Linked DNA regions of Homo sapiens: all the other regions are linked to region 5. Evidence: promoter capture Hi-C in 16 types of primary human blood cells and fetal thymus (Javierre and others, 2016). All regions are on one chromosome and are shown on one strand. Each heading gives the region's core, a stretch centred on a gene start or on the middle of the fragment in contact. The rest is flanking DNA. Distances are from core to core; before and after follow the strand shown.

Evidence for each region. The method cuts DNA at HindIII sites, captures the fragments that hold promoters and counts their contacts. A CHiCAGO score of 5 or more calls a contact.
Region 1: a contact is called between a fragment that was not itself captured here and the fragment with the promoter of HRNR in region 5, in 6 of 17 cell types (total CD8 T cells, naive CD8 T cells, naive CD4 T cells and 3 more). The highest score is 7.0, in total CD8 T cells.
Region 2: a contact is called between a fragment that was not itself captured here and the fragment with the promoter of HRNR in region 5, in 15 of 17 cell types (total CD4 T cells, naive CD8 T cells, naive CD4 T cells and 12 more). The highest score is 12.1, in total CD4 T cells.
Region 3: a fragment that was not itself captured here is called in contact with the fragment with the promoter of HRNR in region 5 in 1 of 17 cell types (total CD8 T cells); the score reaches 5.0 in total CD8 T cells.
Region 4: a fragment that was not itself captured here is called in contact with the fragment with the promoter of HRNR in region 5 in 4 of 17 cell types (naive CD8 T cells, total CD8 T cells, total CD4 T cells and 1 more); the score reaches 7.0 in naive CD8 T cells.
Region 6: a fragment that was not itself captured here is called in contact with the fragment with the promoter of HRNR in region 5 in 2 of 17 cell types (total CD8 T cells and total CD4 T cells); the score reaches 6.0 in total CD8 T cells.

The regions. Positions count from the first base shown.
Region 1 is chr1:152,087,074-152,089,867 of GRCh38, reverse strand. It overlaps TCHHL1 (trichohyalin like 1), which reads left to right and starts at 804. Exons shown (of 3, transcript NM_001008536.2): 1 at 804-848; 2 at 1,705-1,862; 3 at 2,325-2,794. The coding sequence starts at 1,725. The HindIII fragment of the contact is 182 bases long and covers 1,262-1,443 here.
Region 2 is chr1:152,454,658-152,457,655 of GRCh38, reverse strand. No RefSeq gene overlaps it. Among named protein-coding and RNA genes, the nearest start is that of CRNN, 42 kb to the right of the region's middle. The HindIII fragment of the contact is 3,652 bases long and covers 1-2,998 here.
Region 3 is chr1:152,070,315-152,073,115 of GRCh38, reverse strand. No RefSeq gene overlaps it. Among named protein-coding and RNA genes, the nearest start is that of TCHHL1, 17 kb to the left of the region's middle. The HindIII fragment of the contact is 438 bases long and covers 1,331-1,768 here.
Region 4 is chr1:152,422,780-152,425,479 of GRCh38, reverse strand. No RefSeq gene overlaps it. Among named protein-coding and RNA genes, the nearest start is that of CRNN, 9.9 kb to the right of the region's middle. The HindIII fragment of the contact is 1,645 bases long and covers 432-2,076 here.
Region 5 is chr1:152,222,817-152,225,614 of GRCh38, reverse strand. It overlaps HRNR (hornerin), which reads left to right and starts at 1,422. Exons shown (of 3, transcript NM_001009931.3): 1 at 1,422-1,472; 2 at 2,337-2,499. The coding sequence starts at 2,362. All of the region lies in intron 1 of CCDST (cervical cancer associated DHX9 suppressive transcript), which reads right to left. The HindIII fragment of the contact is 14,241 bases long and covers 1-2,798 here.
Region 6 is chr1:152,404,470-152,407,169 of GRCh38, reverse strand. No RefSeq gene overlaps it. Among named protein-coding and RNA genes, the nearest start is that of CRNN, 8.4 kb to the left of the region's middle. The HindIII fragment of the contact is 1,564 bases long and covers 535-2,098 here.

The DNA.
Region 1 (2,794 bases), core at 103-2,602, 140 kb after region 5:
TTATTTTATTAAATATTCTCTACTAAGAAGGACCCAGATCTAGGAGACAATTAAAATGTTTGCCAGTTCAGCATCTCAGACTCACTTCTGTTCTCAGCTTGATGATTTCAACATCTCCCTTTCCCCTTTACAGGGAGAACACAGTAATATAGATTATTGGTTTCAAGCTCCTTGTATAGTAAAAATGTCTTTAGAAAGCAAATATCAATCACGTTTTTAAAATAGCACAACATAGGTAAGCAAGGCTTTGCACACCAAGCAAGAATTTTTTTTTTTTTCTAACTCTGCCTCTGGGCAAGGAGAGCAAAGCATTGAAACATCTGAATCAACTGGTATCTCCACTTTTGTCACATGGCTAAATGGGGGCCTTTATTTTTAAACACATGATTGACACCCATCTCTCAGGTTTGGGTCAAATACGGGCCATCTTGTGGGCAGACAGAGGAATCAGATGACTTATGAGGTCCCTGCCAGCACTATGATTTGTCAGACAGAAATGTAATTATGTCCTTAGGTTAAAAAATGGGGGAGGGAAGCCAACACTACCTTGAAGAGCCTTCAAAACTATAATCTGCAAAAGTCAGTAAATGAATCAAGAAACCCCCTCCCCTTTCTTTTGATGCATCTGAAGCTAAGATTTAATTGAAACTGCCTAAAGAAGGAAATAAAATTAAGACAACTGACAACAGAGCAGGGGAGACTGGATTTGGTGGTGATGTCAGGTCATTAGACCCAGAGGGTGTCTCCTTCTTAACTGTGCAATTAGGACCTCAATAAAAGGTTCCAGCTCCTGCTGTCAGCTCACAGCCCGCTGCCCCACGTTCTACCTGCTCTCGCTTGTGAACTAGGTAAGTCCATCTGCTTGAGCATACTTGGGATTTCAGTTGCTGTTTTGCTTATATGTGAGATTGCAAGAGGATTTCAAAGGAAACACACTTTAAGTCTATGTCAACCCCTATTAATAATAATAAACTGGGAGCGCCAACCACCCAAATGCATTCCTTGATTATGGAACTTCTTTGATCATTTTCTTTTTAAAAAAAACATAAATTGTTTAGAAGTCATAGGCATGAATATTATTCAACAAGGCACAGGATCAGATCTCTATTGCAATGAAAATGTAGAAGCATTTAAAGGATGGGAAATGAATGAATAAGGGGTCGGGACATGGAATCATGTCTTCTTGGTTAAAGCATGTTGTTACCACCTGCAAACATAGGGGTTAATTTTCTTGGTGTGACTTATCTTTCCACTAGAAGCTTTGCTAACTTTAAAGGTTATACCCTCCTAACCGCAGGAGGCTAGACTGAGCCAAAGGGAGAGGAGAGCAGATAGACACTCTTGGATGAGGCTGGAAGAATGGGTCCAACTCTATTGGCTTCATTTATGCATTTCAATCCTTATGCTTGAGTTCTCTTATCACCTTCCTTTTGCAATGAAGCTTTCTCTGAGCACATGAATGTTGCTGTTTACTGAAGAGTGGGGTGAATTGTCTCTTCTAATACTTACCTATGCTGGGTCTGATTTCACCACAATGTCTGGTACAATACTAAATCACCCCTGGAGTTCAGATATAATATTTTAAGATACAGAATAGAGCAGGGGTTGCAGTGGAGATGGGGGAGGAACAAAAAGGATAATCTTGGTATCTCCTCCCTGAAGGACCCATCCTGGAAAATGAGCTTTGTTTATTCTTTCTCACAGCCTCTCCTGAGTTTGTAAAGATGCCTCAGCTCCTGAGAAATGTCCTCTGTGTAATTGAGACATTCCACAAATATGCCAGTGAGGACAGTAACGGGGCAACACTGACTGGCAGAGAGCTGAAACAACTCATCCAGGGCGAGTTTGGGGACTTTTTTCAGGTGAGCTTCTCACAGAGCTGTGTAAATTCTTTCCAACTCACCCTTTCTTTATAATCCAAGCAAGATGAGCATATGTGATCCCCATCCATTTTACACCTAGCTAACAGTTCTCAGCACTCACTGTCTCTTGAACAACTATTTTCAGTCTCAGTTCCATACTCTGTGCAATTACTTAGAGAAAAAGAGGTTTTCGTCACTGGGATTATTGCTTCTGCAAAGCTGACTTCTGAAAGGAGTCATAAACCATTATGCATCAAAATGCAACTCACAAGTGTTGTAAATGCTCTTTCTCAGGCATAGCTCTCTGATGAAAAATGGCTTGCAGAACCAATAAGTTCTTGCTGTTCTGGGAAAGTTAACCAGTTACTGAGGAATGAGGTCAGAAAAATAGGATTCTTGGGAGACACTTAGGACACTGGACCACATATAAATAAGCTGATTTCTCACTGTGTTTTCATGCAGCCCTGTGTCCTTCATGCTGTGGAAAAAAATTCAAATCTTCTGAATATTGACAGTAATGGCATCATCAGTTTTGATGAATTTGTTCTTGCAATCTTCAACTTGTTGAACCTCTGTTATCTTGACATAAAATCATTACTAAGTTCTGAACTAAGACAGGTGACTAAACCAGAGAAGGAGAAGCTAGATGATGTGGATGTTCAGGCAACCACCGGAGATGGTCAGTGGACAGTGGGAACTTCACCAACTCAAGAAAAGAGGATGCTTCCTTCAGGAATGGCATCATCATCTCAGCTCATCCCTGAAGAAAGTGGAGCAGTTGGAAATAACAGAGTGGACCCATGGAGAGAAGCCAAGACTCACAACTTTCCAGGAGAAGCATCTGAACACAATGATCCTAAGAACAAACACCTGGAAGGAGATGAACAAAGTCAGGAAGTGGCTCAAGATATACAAACAACAGAAGACAATGA
Region 2 (2,998 bases), core at 132-2,631, 230 kb before region 5:
CCCATCGAGTAACTATCTGAAACCCTTTGAGTCTAATTGTCTTCAGATGTGAAATGTAAAAGGACAATGCACACCACATAAGGTTGACATAAGGAATGACTGGCGTAATGGTTGTAAAAAGCCTAGCACTGTGCCTGGCAGATGGCAGTCATTCTGCAAGGTACAGTTGCCCTCTCAGAACCTAGGCATGGTGTACAAGACCAAAGCCCCCAAAGCAACTCATTGTCCTGTCCACCTCTTCCTAAAATGCCATGTTATTGTTGCACCCCCATAGGCACCATTTTGTCAAGTGTGGTCTGGTCCTATTCTCCAAGCACTCTGTATCACACACTCCTGTGATTGCCACAGCATGGGGCAGGGCTGGCCTGGTAACTCCCTAAGGGACTAAGTCCTGCCTCACCAACAGTCTTCTATTCTGTCCTGGGCCCCTGAGATTCTGCCCTTCCACACAACAAGAGTAGTGACTGTGATACCAGAACCACATGACATGTTAAATAAAGAGGCTCTGTAAAGAGGAGCAGAGAGATGTGTGCCCCGGAGGGGAGGGAGGTGGTCAGGCTGGGGGTGAAGAGTGGTGGGACTTGGCCCTAGGAACTCCTGCCCTTTTGTCCTCCTTCCTGCCATACCCTCTCCTGTGTGTTCTTAGCATCTCACCCCCACTCCTCATCTCTCCAGTTCTAAAACAGTCTGTCAAGGCTTCTGGAAGTGGAGAGAGACCCAGGCTGGTTATGGAGGGATTATAAGGAACTGCTAAACACAAAAGACAATGGTCAGCCTCACCCAGACAAAGGCAAATGCCTGTCTTAGTGGGGAGATTGCATGTTCATCCAATTTGAAATTTTAAACAGATGTATAACTCTAAATACTTTAGAATTACAATGTTAGGTTGTGATTTTGAAAAATACCAGAAAAAATGGTATTATGCTAGCAAAAATATAAAGTGGAAATTTCCTCTTCCAATGGGAATGGAGTTACAGGGATGGATTTATCCTGTAACCTGAAACAACTACATAATCTGACAAGCTATAGTTGGCCTTCCTTATACTTGACTTCTACATCCATGGATTCAACCAACCATGGATCAAAAACATTTGAAAAAATACAATAAAAATACAATTTAAAAATACAGTATAACAACCATTTACATAGCATTTACATTATATTAGGTATTATAAGTAATCTAGAGATGTTTTCATGTCTACAGGAGGATGTGCATAGGTTATATGCAAATATCTTGCCATTTTACGTGAGGGATTTGAGCATCTCCAGATTTTGGCATCTTCAAGGGTCTTGGAACAAATCCCTCGTGAATACCAAGGAATGGCTATATAAAAAGAACAATAGTTTTCAAGACCATGAACCTGAAGCAATGCAGGACCATGATGTTTGCAAGATGAAACAAAATGAGCTGAACCCTAGGACTGTCCTGGCCTCCTCCCGGCAAAGGGTTTCCAGGCTGTGACTCAGGGAGCGGAAACTGGCAGAGTCCAGTGGACTCTCAGGATTGAATAAATGGAACTGGATCCTAAAAGACCAAGGCAGCTAGAGTTTTCAAGACAGACTACTAGCCTAGCTGTGGGGAAAAGAAAGAGAGATCAGACTGTTACTGTGTCTATGTAGAAAGAAGTAGACATAAGAGACTCCATTTTGTTGTGTACTAAGAAAAATTCTTCTGCCTTGAGATGCTGTTAATCTGTAACCCTAGCCCCAACCCTGTGCTTGCAGAGACCTGTGATGTGTTAACTCAAGGTTTAATGGATTTAGGGCTATGCAGGATGTGCTTTGTTAAACAAGTGCTTGAAGGCAGTATGCTTGTTAAAAGTCATCACTACTCTCTAATCTCAAGTACCCAGGGACACAATACACTGCGGAAGGCCGCAGGGACCTCTGCCTAGGAAAGCCACATATTGTCCAAGGTTTCTCCCCAAGTGATAGCCTGGGATATGGCCTCATGGGAGGGGAAAGACCTAACCATCCCCCAGCCCAACACCCGTAAAGGGTCTGTGCTGAGGAGGATTAGTAAAAGAGGAAGGCCTCTTTGCAGTTGAGATAACTCTGAGGAAGGCATCTGTCTCCTGCTCATCCCTGGGCAATGGAATGTCTCGGTGTAAAACCCAATTGTATGTTCCATCTACTGAGACAGGAGAAAACCACCTTATGGCTGGAGGTGAGACATGCTGGTGGCAATACTGCTCTTTAATGCACCAAGATGTTTATGTATTGGCACATCAAAGCACAGCACCTTTTTCTTAACCTTGTTTATGACACAGAGACATTTGTCACATGTTTTCCTGCTGACCTTCTCCCCACTATTACCCTATTGTCCTGCCACATCCCCCTCTCTGAGATGGTAGAGATAATGATCAATAAATACTGAGGGAACTCAGAGACCAGTGCCGGCGCGGGTCCTCCGTATACTGAGCGCCCGGTCCCCTGGGCCCACTTTTCTTTCTCTATGCTTTGTCTCTGTGTCTCTTTCTTTTCTCAGTCTCTCGTCCCACCAGACGAGAAACACCCACAGGTGTGGAGGGGCAGGCCACCCCTTCACCTAGCAAGGCAAGAGCTAGAGAGAGAAGGGGGCAGGGGAGCCCTGACAATCAGGAACAGCCTCCCCTCAGATCCTTAGCTGAGTTATGATCAGCACCTGTATGTGAGGAAACTACCTGAGGCAGAGGATGGACCTCCCTGCAGGAATGAAAGCGAATAATCCCAGGATCACCCCGAGTTAGGAAGAACCCCTGTTCCTAACAGCTAGAGTAGAAAACATCATAATTTATTGGATACTGGGTAGAGTACTCAGAAAGGTTTTGCCTCAGTGGTGTAGTAAAATTGGTCCTAAACTAAACACTGCTCTGGTGCCACCCATCATATCTTAAAAAGCAAAATTTGAAGGACCAAACTGTTTCCAAGTAACTTAACTTTTGTTTCTTATTTATAGAAACAAAAATATATCCAGCCATTCAAATGGTAAAATTCACAATGTGTGGTATCCATAAAA
Region 3 (2,801 bases), core at 300-2,799, 150 kb after region 5:
CTGGATGGTGAGGAGGGCCTGTGATGGAGTCTCCTAAAAACAGCCATAAACCTTATTTCTTGAGGGCTTGTCAAAGCACTGAGATAGGAGTTGCAACCCCAGCACTGTCCTTTCCACAAGGACCCATCCTAGGCACCATTTTAAGGAAAGAAAGTAAAAATAGAGAAGAGAATTTGAAGAAAAGATGGAATTCTTCCATCACTATCGATATATGTCTGGGTGTGTATGTTGCCTAAAGGGGCCAGCAGGCTTCATGACAACATTAGGATTGTCCAGAACCTTCAGAAAATATCACATGCATTTCTTCCTGACCTCCACAAACCACTGAAGGAGAAACCGGGGAATGTTTCAGAGCCAACTCTGAGGGTGGCTGATGACACACAACTACCCCTGAAGGGACCCCCAAGAAGGTGGACAGGAGTTTCTTTGAGGTCCATGTCTGGGCAAGTGGAGCATGAGGATGAGGCTACCTGGAGGCTGAGACAGGGAGCTTGAGGCAGACAGGAAGCCTCTCAGGAGCAATGCTTCTTTGCTGAGCCCTTTAGATCAAGCTTAAAGCTCAGGCGTTTTTGTAAAGCCATGAGAATATTCTGGTTTCCACTGGGTGGGTTGAGGTGGTTTTGAAACACAGAATCTGAAACTTGCCCAGCCGAGTTACTAGCTCTATTTGAGTAAACTGCAGGACAATAATTTTTCTCAAACAAGCGTTTAGTTAACTGTTCCTCACCATTCCCCTCACTTCTCCATGATTCTATTCCAGGCCTGGGAGTGGTGTGGAATCAGATCAAGGAGTTCATGTGGTTTCTGGTCTCAAGAAGCATATGATCTGGCCCAGGAGATGAGGCTAAACCACAGAAGAAAACCATGTGGAGACTTGCGTACCATGTCCACCTTGGTTTTCTCTACTTCTAAAGACGGAAAAGCTCAGAAAGAAAAACACCAAACTGATAATGGTCATTGCCTCTGAGAAAAGTAAAAGGGAATCAGGAGAGACAGTAGTAGTCAAAGAAGTCTTAGATGTCATCAAGTAATGTTTCAATTTTTTCAAGGATCAGGAACGTATGTATTATTTGTGTATAAATAAAAATTACTTTGAGATCTATAATTACTTCCATATGTTTTAATCACAAACAAGAAAATCATACCCCATACTGATTTGGGTCTTACTTAAAATCCTTAACAATCATAGTTTCAGAAAAAGGTCCTGATACATAAGGAAAATCAGTTAAATGTTAACATTCTTTGGCCACTGGGTTTATTATCTTCTTCTAAGAAAGACACAAGGGATGAGAATTTTCTGCTTTTTTCCATTTTCTGATCAAGAAAAGCTTGACTGAGCTGACCAAGAACATGTCAAGGATCTGAGAGTCCCCCGCCATGCCCCAGTTCATTCAGTTACATCCCTTCCTAATTGGGAACATGTTTAGGGGAGCCTACATTTCTGTAATTACTGGCCCCAGTGTATTTTTAAAAGCCTCATTCAGATGGAACAAATTCTTTGCATTTAATCATGCTGAACCTCATAATAAACATAATAACTGGGATTTGCACGGTGCTTTTCTTCAGAATGAGCTTAAAACACATTATAATCCAGTGCTTCCCTGAGCCACACCGTATCCTTATGACACATCCAAGAAATGGTGACCACTAGATCCCACTGCTGAGGCTCAGAGGGATTTGGTAAGATGCCTGAGGTCACAGAGCAGGCAAAGTCCAAATGTGCACTCAGGATAGCCACCCCAGCAGCAACTCCTCCAATCACCAAGCTTCTCCTACAGACAACTTGATGCCTTCAAATGACTCTGGCAGTCTCCTCTTATCTGTAATCATGGCTGTGGACACTTTCCAGGAAACTCCTCCCAGGCAGTGTCAAGACAAACCTTGACGCTGAGGGGCAAAGACCACGTCATCAGAAGAGTGTCACCACAGAAGTCATTCTGTCACCATTGCACATGGACTCTGGGTCAGAAAATGTCCTGTTTGTACAGGCAGTGTGGGTGGTAAGCATGGGCCCTGGCACCAAGCAGGCCTCCCCATTGTGTGACTATGGCAGGCTATCGCCTGGTGTGGACACACAGTAAGCGTCTCTTTCCCTTCTCATAGCAAGAACTGGATGCATTCATTTTCAATCTACTTGTCTTTTATTTTCCCTGATAGAAACTAATAAATTTTTAGGTAAAAGAACGAAAGGGAAGATCAAACTGAATGGAGACTTCAGGTCTGAAACAAATGGGGTGGGAATAGAGAGGTAGAAGAGACAGAGGTAAGAAAAGGCACACAAAGAAAGGGACAATGAGAAACAGAAAGAGATTGAAATGTTGAAAGGGGGGAAGACAAAAGGAAGACGGAAAAGAGAACAGAGAGAGACCATCAGAAAATGAGAAAGAGTGGAGAAAAGCAAGAAGGCCCAGGAATCAGATGAGCCAAACTCAGGAGAGACGGGCAGCAGACCAGGTGTGTCAGCAACAGCAGCCCGGAGACCACAGGCAAACCCAGAAGCTACAGGTCTGGCTGCCAAAGACGATTTACCAAGAGGGTGGGGAGACATTTGCACAAGGATAATTCCTCTCAAAAGCAAGGCTTTTCAAAGCAAGAATTATAATTATCTCTGTTACTCTTATTAATCACTCTAACGGCAACTAATGACCACACGGAGCCAGTTCATCAGGCTCCTGCCCTTTAGACACACAGGGAGAAAGACCTGCCTCCTCCTCCTTCAGTAGTCACCCATGCCTTGGGCTGTCTGAATACGGGCAAGAAAGAGTTTCCTACACAAATTCAAAAATAATGAAATATTATTG
Region 4 (2,700 bases), core at 5-2,504, 200 kb before region 5:
GCAACCTCTGCCTCCCGGGTTCAGCTGATTCTCCTGCTTCAGCCTACCAAGTAGCTGAGATTACAGGCATCTGCCACCTCGCTCGGCTAATTTTTTTGTATTTTATAAGTAGAGATGGGGTTTTACCATGTTGGCCAGGCTGGTCTTGAACTCCTGACCTCAGGTGATCTGCCTGCCTCGGCCTCCCAAAGTGCTGGGATTACAGGTGTGAGCCACCATGCCCAGCCTGGCACATAATCTTTGCACCATCCACAGCTGCTGAGCCTCAAGCCAAGCCTCCATCTCTTCATCAGTAAATGAACTGACTGTGTAGGACTAACAGTCTCATCCAGACCTTGTTGGACTCCTCAGCACCTCCTCTGCAGTGTCCCCTAATGCTCCTTGTCAGGACATCCATTTCACCTGAATTTTGCTAAGCCTGGAGTGAAGCTTTAGCTGATGGATCTTGGCCTCTGTGAGCCAGGCACTGTCACCATCCAGACTTCCAGGCCTTGCTTGCAACCAGCTCCTTTTGGTAGTCAGTGTCTCAGACCTAGTTGTCAAGCCCACCCTGGAGAAAAGTGACTTGTGTCTTGGCCACTGCTGCCACTTCACAAGCCTATGTCTGAAAAGTAATAGTACACACATAGTGTCAGATATGTATTCCATATGCAGCAATGGTTGGCAGGCACATGGATTTGTGGAACCTGTACAATAAGGCTACCAAGCACCTGAAGACTTCAATTCAGGAAAGGGGATAGAAATCAGGTTCTTAGCACTCACATGGAAAGACTGGGCACCCAGAGAAGCCACTGTTGGGAATAGGCCCCCAAAATATGGCCATAAACTGGCCCCAAAACTGGCCATAAACAAAATCTCTGCAGCACTGTGACATGTTCATGATGTCCATGACACCCATGCTGGAAGGTTGTGGGTTTACTGGAATGAGGGCAAGGAATACCTGGCCCACCCAGGGTGGAAAACTGCTTAAAGGCATTCTTAAACCACAAACAATAGCATGAGCCATCCATGCCTTAAGGATATGCTCCTGCTGCAGATAACTAGCCAGACCCATCCCTTTATTTTGGCCCATCCCTTTATTTCCCATAAGGAATACCTTTAGTTAATCTATAATCTATAGAAACAATGCTTATCACTGGCCTGGCTTGCTGTTAATAAATACGTGGGTAAATCTCTGTTCAAGGCTCTCAGCTCTGAAGGCTGTGAGACCCCTGATTTCCCACTTCACAACTCTATATTTCTGTGTGTGTGTGTCTTTAATTCCTCTAGTGCCACTGGGTTAGGGTCTCCCTGACTGAGCTGGTCTCAGCAAGTGGAGCCCAACATGGGGCCTCAAACCCAGGTTGAAGGGTCGCCGGAGTGACAGTTGGAAAACGTGGAACTAAGCTGGAGGACACCCAAGTACTCTTAAAGCAATCCCCGTGGTGAGTAAGAAGGGGAGCTAGGAAGCATCAGGGTAACCATGGGATAAGTGTGGGCTCTGGGTTGTTCCACCTTGGAACCTTTTCACACTAAAGATGAGGAGGAAGGAGAGTATAACGAAGTAACAGAAGAGGTTACAGAGCAGGTTTGTTTGCCAGCTAAAGCTAAAGCAGCAAAGGAGAGAGAGGTTCAGCCCTACCCTTTTGCGCCCCCTCATTATTATTTTGAAGAAAAAGAGTGGCCTGACCCTCCAGATCTTTCTTTTCTGGAGGACACTAGGCAAAAAGTAGTTGCCCCAGTGACTGTTCGAGCAGCGCCTCGAGCAACCGTTCTCAGTTCTATTCAGGCAGGAATTCAGCAAGCTAGACGAGAAGGTGATTTAGAGGCTTGACAATTCCCTGTTAGAATACACCCCCCAGATCTGTACCTTAAGGACATGCTCCTGCTACATTTGAACCTTTTCCTTTTAAATTACTCAAAGAATTTAAACAAGTTATTATTCAATATGCACCAGGTTCTCCTTTTGTAATGGGACTTTTAAAGAATGTTGCTGTTTCTAGTCAGATGATTCCTACTGACTTGGACACTCTTACTCGAGCTTATCTAACTCCTGCTCAGTTCTTACAATTTAAAACTTGGTGGGCAGATGAAGCTTCCATTCAGGCTGCTCACAACACCCAGGCCCAACCTCAAATTAATATAACTGCAGACCAACTTTTGGGGGTTGGTGGCTGGGCTGGTTTAGATGCACAAGTGGTCATGCAGGATGATGCCATAGAACAGCTTAGAGGAGTGTGCATTAGAGCTTGGGAAAAAATAACTTCTGGTGGAGAAAAATACCCTTCCTTTAGTGCTGTAAAACAGGGACCAAAATAACGCCATGTGTGGATTTTATAGCTCAGTTACAGGAGTCTCTTAAAAAGGTGATTGCAGATTCGGCTGCTCTGGATATAGTGTTATGGTTATTAGCGTTCAACAATGCTAATCCTGATTGCCAGGCTGCTCTGCAACTTATTAGAGGGAAAGCACATTTAGTTGATTATATCAAGGCCTGTGACGGTATTGTAGGTAATCTGCATAAAGCTACTTTGTTGGCACAGGTCTCCACTGGGGTTGGTCAGTTTTTACCTAGTTCTTTCTCCATTAATCAAAGCACCCATCCCTTCCAGGGAGTTTTGGTATCCAAGATTAAAAGGTGAATTATTTGAGGAAGATATTCTGGGAGGTTCCCGAGGAACACCTGGTTGCAGCCATGTCAAGACTGACTCTGAGGAGGAC
Region 5 (2,798 bases), core at 173-2,672:
GCAGAAAGCCACTCATTGATTCTCAATGCTAAGATTCCGTTTATATTCAGGTAAAATCATGTCCTCTGAGGCAAAGATGGCAAGAGAGAGGGCAGACCCTAGTCCTCCTGTGAAAAGATGGAAGTTGGCCAATGCAGAGGACTATAGTCTTGATCCTTGCTTCTCTTTCAAATGAATTCAAACTGACATTTATTGGAGACCGTTATGTGACAAGCAGTATACTAGGTCTCCAAATGACATAAGGATAAATAATGTCCATTCCTTATTCTCAAGGAGCTCATAGCCTAGAAATGAAATAAGCCCATAGACAAATGTGTGTGTCTGTGTGTGAATGTGTGTGTTTGTGAAAGGCAAGGATATACAACAAATAACTAACAGTAGTTATTTTTGGCTAGTGGCTTTAAAGGTATTTTGATTTTATCTTATTTGCTTATCAATATTTTCTAATTTTTATATTAAACAATAATTGTATAGTAAAACAATTTTTAAAGATTACAATATAGTATGATTGATACAACAATAAATATGAATAAGGTACACAATTACAACTCCCTCTTGAGTAATTCAGGAAAGATTTTCTATGGGAAGCCTAAATTGGATTTTGAAGAATAATTAGTTCACTAGGCAGACAATGAGGAAAGACATTCTAAGAAAAAATATGAAATAACATATCCCATGGTATATTGAGGAAGTTTGAAATATTACTAGTTAATTACTGTTGGAGTACAAAGAGAAATATGGAGGGGAGAAATGGAGCTGGAAAAAAGCCACAGCCCAGATCATGAGGAACCATGGATACCATGCTAACAAGCACGCATTTCTTCCTAAGGTTATATGGTGTTTGAAATGAAAGCTATGGTGATGAATGGCCAATAAGGGGTCTGGTAAATTGAGGTACTTAATGAGTTAAAGGATGGCCTGGAGCCATTATCCAATTCAAAAGGTAATAACAATACCAAAGATGACACTTTGGCTGGAATACCATTTAAGAACATTTAGCTTAGAATGGGAGAGTTTGACTAGATGATCTTTACAGTCCTTTTAATCATCAATTTCCATGATTTTTTGACATTTGGGCCATGATGTCCCTGCACACACTCCATTCAACTTCTATTAAAATCCACACAATTTGTTGTCAATATATTGTGCTAGATAGTTTGATGAATACAAAAACAGGCCTTTCTGCAGTGTCCTGACCCTTTGGCAGGTGGGGCTGAGAGTAGCCCAGATTTGGGAACTGCTAATGCAATCTTAGGTGAACCTGTAAGGAAGTCAGGAAGAAGGTAAACACCTGGGAGGTGGAGATAGAGGTGGAGATGGGCTTGTTTAGGAGTAAATTAGGACATCTCAAAATTAGCAACTCCTCCCTAAGAGGGACCATTATTCCCTCTATAAAAAGGCCACTCTGCCCAACTCGCAGCACCCTGAAAGCTGTTTCTGTCTCTACCCTACTTGTTCCTCTGGTGAGCTAGGTAAGTGAGCAGTTCAACTCCGCTCAAGGGTACTTAGGGCTATAAATTATGAAAGTCCAGGATGTGCTCTAAGGCAAAGAGGCACTAGATACAAGGCTTCTTTTTAGTATACTCTGGGGAACTTTGGTATAAGTTTAAATTTACTGAAAAGAAAAATGAAACAAAGACTAGGACTATGTATATTATCTCCTTTCTTTGAGGTCGCTTCCCTTATAACATGGATATCATGGGGTTCTAATTATCCACAGGCAGGTTGCCTTCTTTACAACTGAGCTTTTCCTCTCTATTGTGTAATAAGGTCTGAGGGTCACTTCCTGCTTGGAGAATGAGAACAGAAGCTGGATCTAATAGCAGTTACCCTTAGCTTCATATCACCTAGGCTTGTTGGCTTTGCTCACATTGTCTATTTTCTCTGACCTAGAAGTCTTGAGAGTTCAGTTCAGCCATTGATGCTCCTTAGGTTGAGTAAGGCATGTCATGTAGATGATGGACCTATGCCCACAGTATGCTTCGAACCTAGAAAGAGGAAGCAGATGAAGTGGAACACTCAGGACTTCTACAGCTCCAGAACAAAGCTAATATTATCCCTGGTAATGGCAGGAAGCCAAAAACAGAAAGTCATTTTTCCTACATTCATTCAGGAATGGAAATAAGACCTATGGATTATATTCCTAATTTCATCACTCTCTTGCTACATGGCTTGAACAAGTCATTCAACTCTGAATTGGTTCTTGATTACAACAGAATGAATTTAATCATGACTGACTAATTCTGAACAATTATTATAAATAATTAGAACTATTTATGTGTTTAAACAAGAAATAAGAATAGTAAGGGGTTGGTCTCTCTTTTTCCTCCCTTTAGGTTACTCAAACTTGCAAAAAAAAAAATGCCTAAACTCCTACAAGGCGTCATCACTGTCATCGATGTTTTCTACCAATATGCCACCCAGCATGGGGAGTATGATACGTTGAACAAGGCAGAGCTGAAAGAACTTCTGGAAAATGAGTTTCATCAAATTCTGAAGGTAAGAACTCCACGCCAGGATGGAGTTATGCAGGAATTTTCTTCTTTATCCCTTTCCACCTTCTTGTCACATATGTCAAACATCCTAGAGGATTGTCCTTACTTGGTGAGAGAGAACAGGGTTTGGTAAAAGTTTGAGATAAGGTCAAAAGCAGATCCGTGATGGTTTCCATAGCATAACTAACGGAAGTGACCTTACTAAACAACAAACAAAACCCACAGGTTAAATAATGTCCTATCTAAGTGACTAATTCCTACAAACCCAGACAGTCCTCAGAAAAACTGTGAAGTAGATTTCTG
Region 6 (2,700 bases), core at 67-2,566, 180 kb before region 5:
GAAAGGAAGAAGGAGGGTAAGGTGAAAATTTCCAGAAAATTCCATCATTACTTAGAGTGGAGAGTGAATATGCCATTTATTAAAGGGAAGGGGGAATACAGAATACATATTACATAAAGATGTACTATAAGATAACAACACAAATACAAACCTTCCTCAACACCAAAAGACATTCTAGAAAAAAGCAAATAACACAGATAACAGAGTGGATGATGTTATTTATGTAAAAGATACATATTTTCATAAATAGGACATAAAAGAGCGTGATAGACTGAGGTCAAACATATTTATAACAATAATGTCAAGAGCTTAACTCACTACTAGATGAACAAGTTGCATATTAGCTCTATACAAGTCTATGCTCCTTACAAGAGGTGTGCAAATCAAAGAGAGTCAGAAAACAATTTGTAAACAGGGTGGTTGAGTTAATATATATCAGGAAAATGCAGGTTAAAACAAAATTTAGAAATCAGGAGTCATGATCTTGATCCCAGATTAGATCAAAAGGCATTAAATAAGACTAAGAAGGAAGCTTTAAAATGCCAAATGCTATAATTTCACAATGAAGATATAATGGTTTTTAATATCTATGCATTCAATAATGTAGCACAACTCTGATGACACAGAAACTATAAGAGATACAAGGAAAAACTTAAAGAAAATAACATAGTAATAATAGGGCACTTTAATCATCTCTCTCAGCTCAAGACAGTAAGTGTAGAGAAGAAACAGTACATTCAATAAGATATAAAGAACTCTACAGACATATAGTCCAGCAATGTATTAACCTAACAAGAAAAAACTATACCGTCTACACATGAAATATTCAATATCAGGTCACAAAGAAAACTTCAATGCATTATTCAAAAATAGAAATAGGCCCAGGTGTGGTGGCTCATGCCTGTAATCCCAGCACTTTGGGAGGCTGAGGCGGGCAGATTGCTTGAGCTCAGGAGTTCAAGACCAGCCTGGGCAACATAATGAGATACCATTTCAACAAAAAGAAAAATACAAAAATTAGTTGGGCATGATGGCACATGCCTATAGTCCCAGATACTCAGGAGGCTAAGGAAAGAGAATCGCTTGAGCCCAGGAGGCAGAGGTTGCAGTGAGCTGAGATTGTGCTACTGCATTCCAGCCTAGGTGACAGATGGAGACCCTGTCTCAATAATAATAATAATAATAATAGAATTATTTCTTTCTTTCTTTTTCTTTTCCTTCTTTTCTTCCTTTCTTTCTTTCTTTCTTTCTTGCTTGCTTGCTTGTGTCTCTCTCGCTCTCTCTCTCTTTCTCTCACTCTCTCTTTTTCTCTCTCTCTCTCTCTCTCTTTCTTTTCTTTTTGAGACAGGGTCTCACTCTGTCACCCAGGCTGGAGTGCAGTGGTATGATCTCAGCTCACTGCTGCCTCCAGCTCCCAGGTTCAAGCAATTCTCCTGCCTCAGCCTCCCGAGTAGCTGGGATTACAGGCCCTTGCCACCACACCTGGCTAATTTTTGTATTTTTTGTGGAGAGGGAGTTTTGCCATGTTTCCCAGGCTGGTCTCAAACTCCTGAGCTCAAGTGATCCGCCCTCCTGAGCCTCCCAAAGTGCTGAGACTAAAGGCATGAACCATTGCCCCTGGCCACAAATAGCATTCTTAAAAGAACATGTAATAGTGATGGATTTTACCAAATCTGTGTTGTTGTTGGAAATTAAAAACATATATATAAACACACACACACATATTATTTTAAAACTGTTGAATAAAAGGAACTGAAAATAAAATGAAATTGCAGAATTTTTAGAAAATGATAATTAAACTAGACATATAAGGATCTGTAGAACACAGCTACATGAATTCCCCATAAAAATTAATAAAAGTATAAGTTCACAAAACAGTCAACAACTAAATAAGTAAGTAAATGAATAGATAATCCTCTTTTTTTTTTTTTTTGGAATCAACAAGTAGAAAAACCAACCTAATTTTGAAAAGAGTGAAAAAGGTGGGGTAAGAAGGCACAAACACACAAAATAAGAAATAAGAATGGGCAAAAGATACAAACAGATAGCTCACAAAAAATACAAATGATGCTTAAATATATGAAAAGATGCTAAAGCTTGTTTGTAATACTAGAAGCATAAACCAAAACTATACTAGTTTGAGATACCATTCTCACTATCAGCTTGACAAAAATCTACAAGTTTGAGAATAGATGATGATGAGGTAAAGCAGGCATTTTCACACCTTCTGGTGGGAATGCAAAATGAGCCTCAGTGGAGAGGAATTTGGTACAGTTCAGCAATACTACATGTGCCTGTTTTGTTCCTGCTGTTGCTTTGGTGTCTGAAGTAGTGCCTAGCATTCAATAATTATTTGTTAAAGGAATTGAATATCCTAATCTTTCCTGTCACATACATAAATTAACATAATCCCTACACAGACATGTGACTGTGGAAACATAGACATAATCAAGCTCATAGCAAATAAGAAAATGGAGTTTCTTTAGTGTTGTCAAAAGTTATGCAGTTAGAAAGAAAGAGGCAGAAATAGGACTAAACCCAGGTCCTCGGACTCTCAACTCAGTGTCAGGTCAAACCTCACAGATAAGAAAGGGCACCAGAGTGTATGAAGATCCATCCAAAGGGGCTGGGGAGGAAGCCGTAGAAAGTGGTCCTTCCACTTCTCACCTCCAGCCTTAACAGGAAGTCTGGCCATGAAAA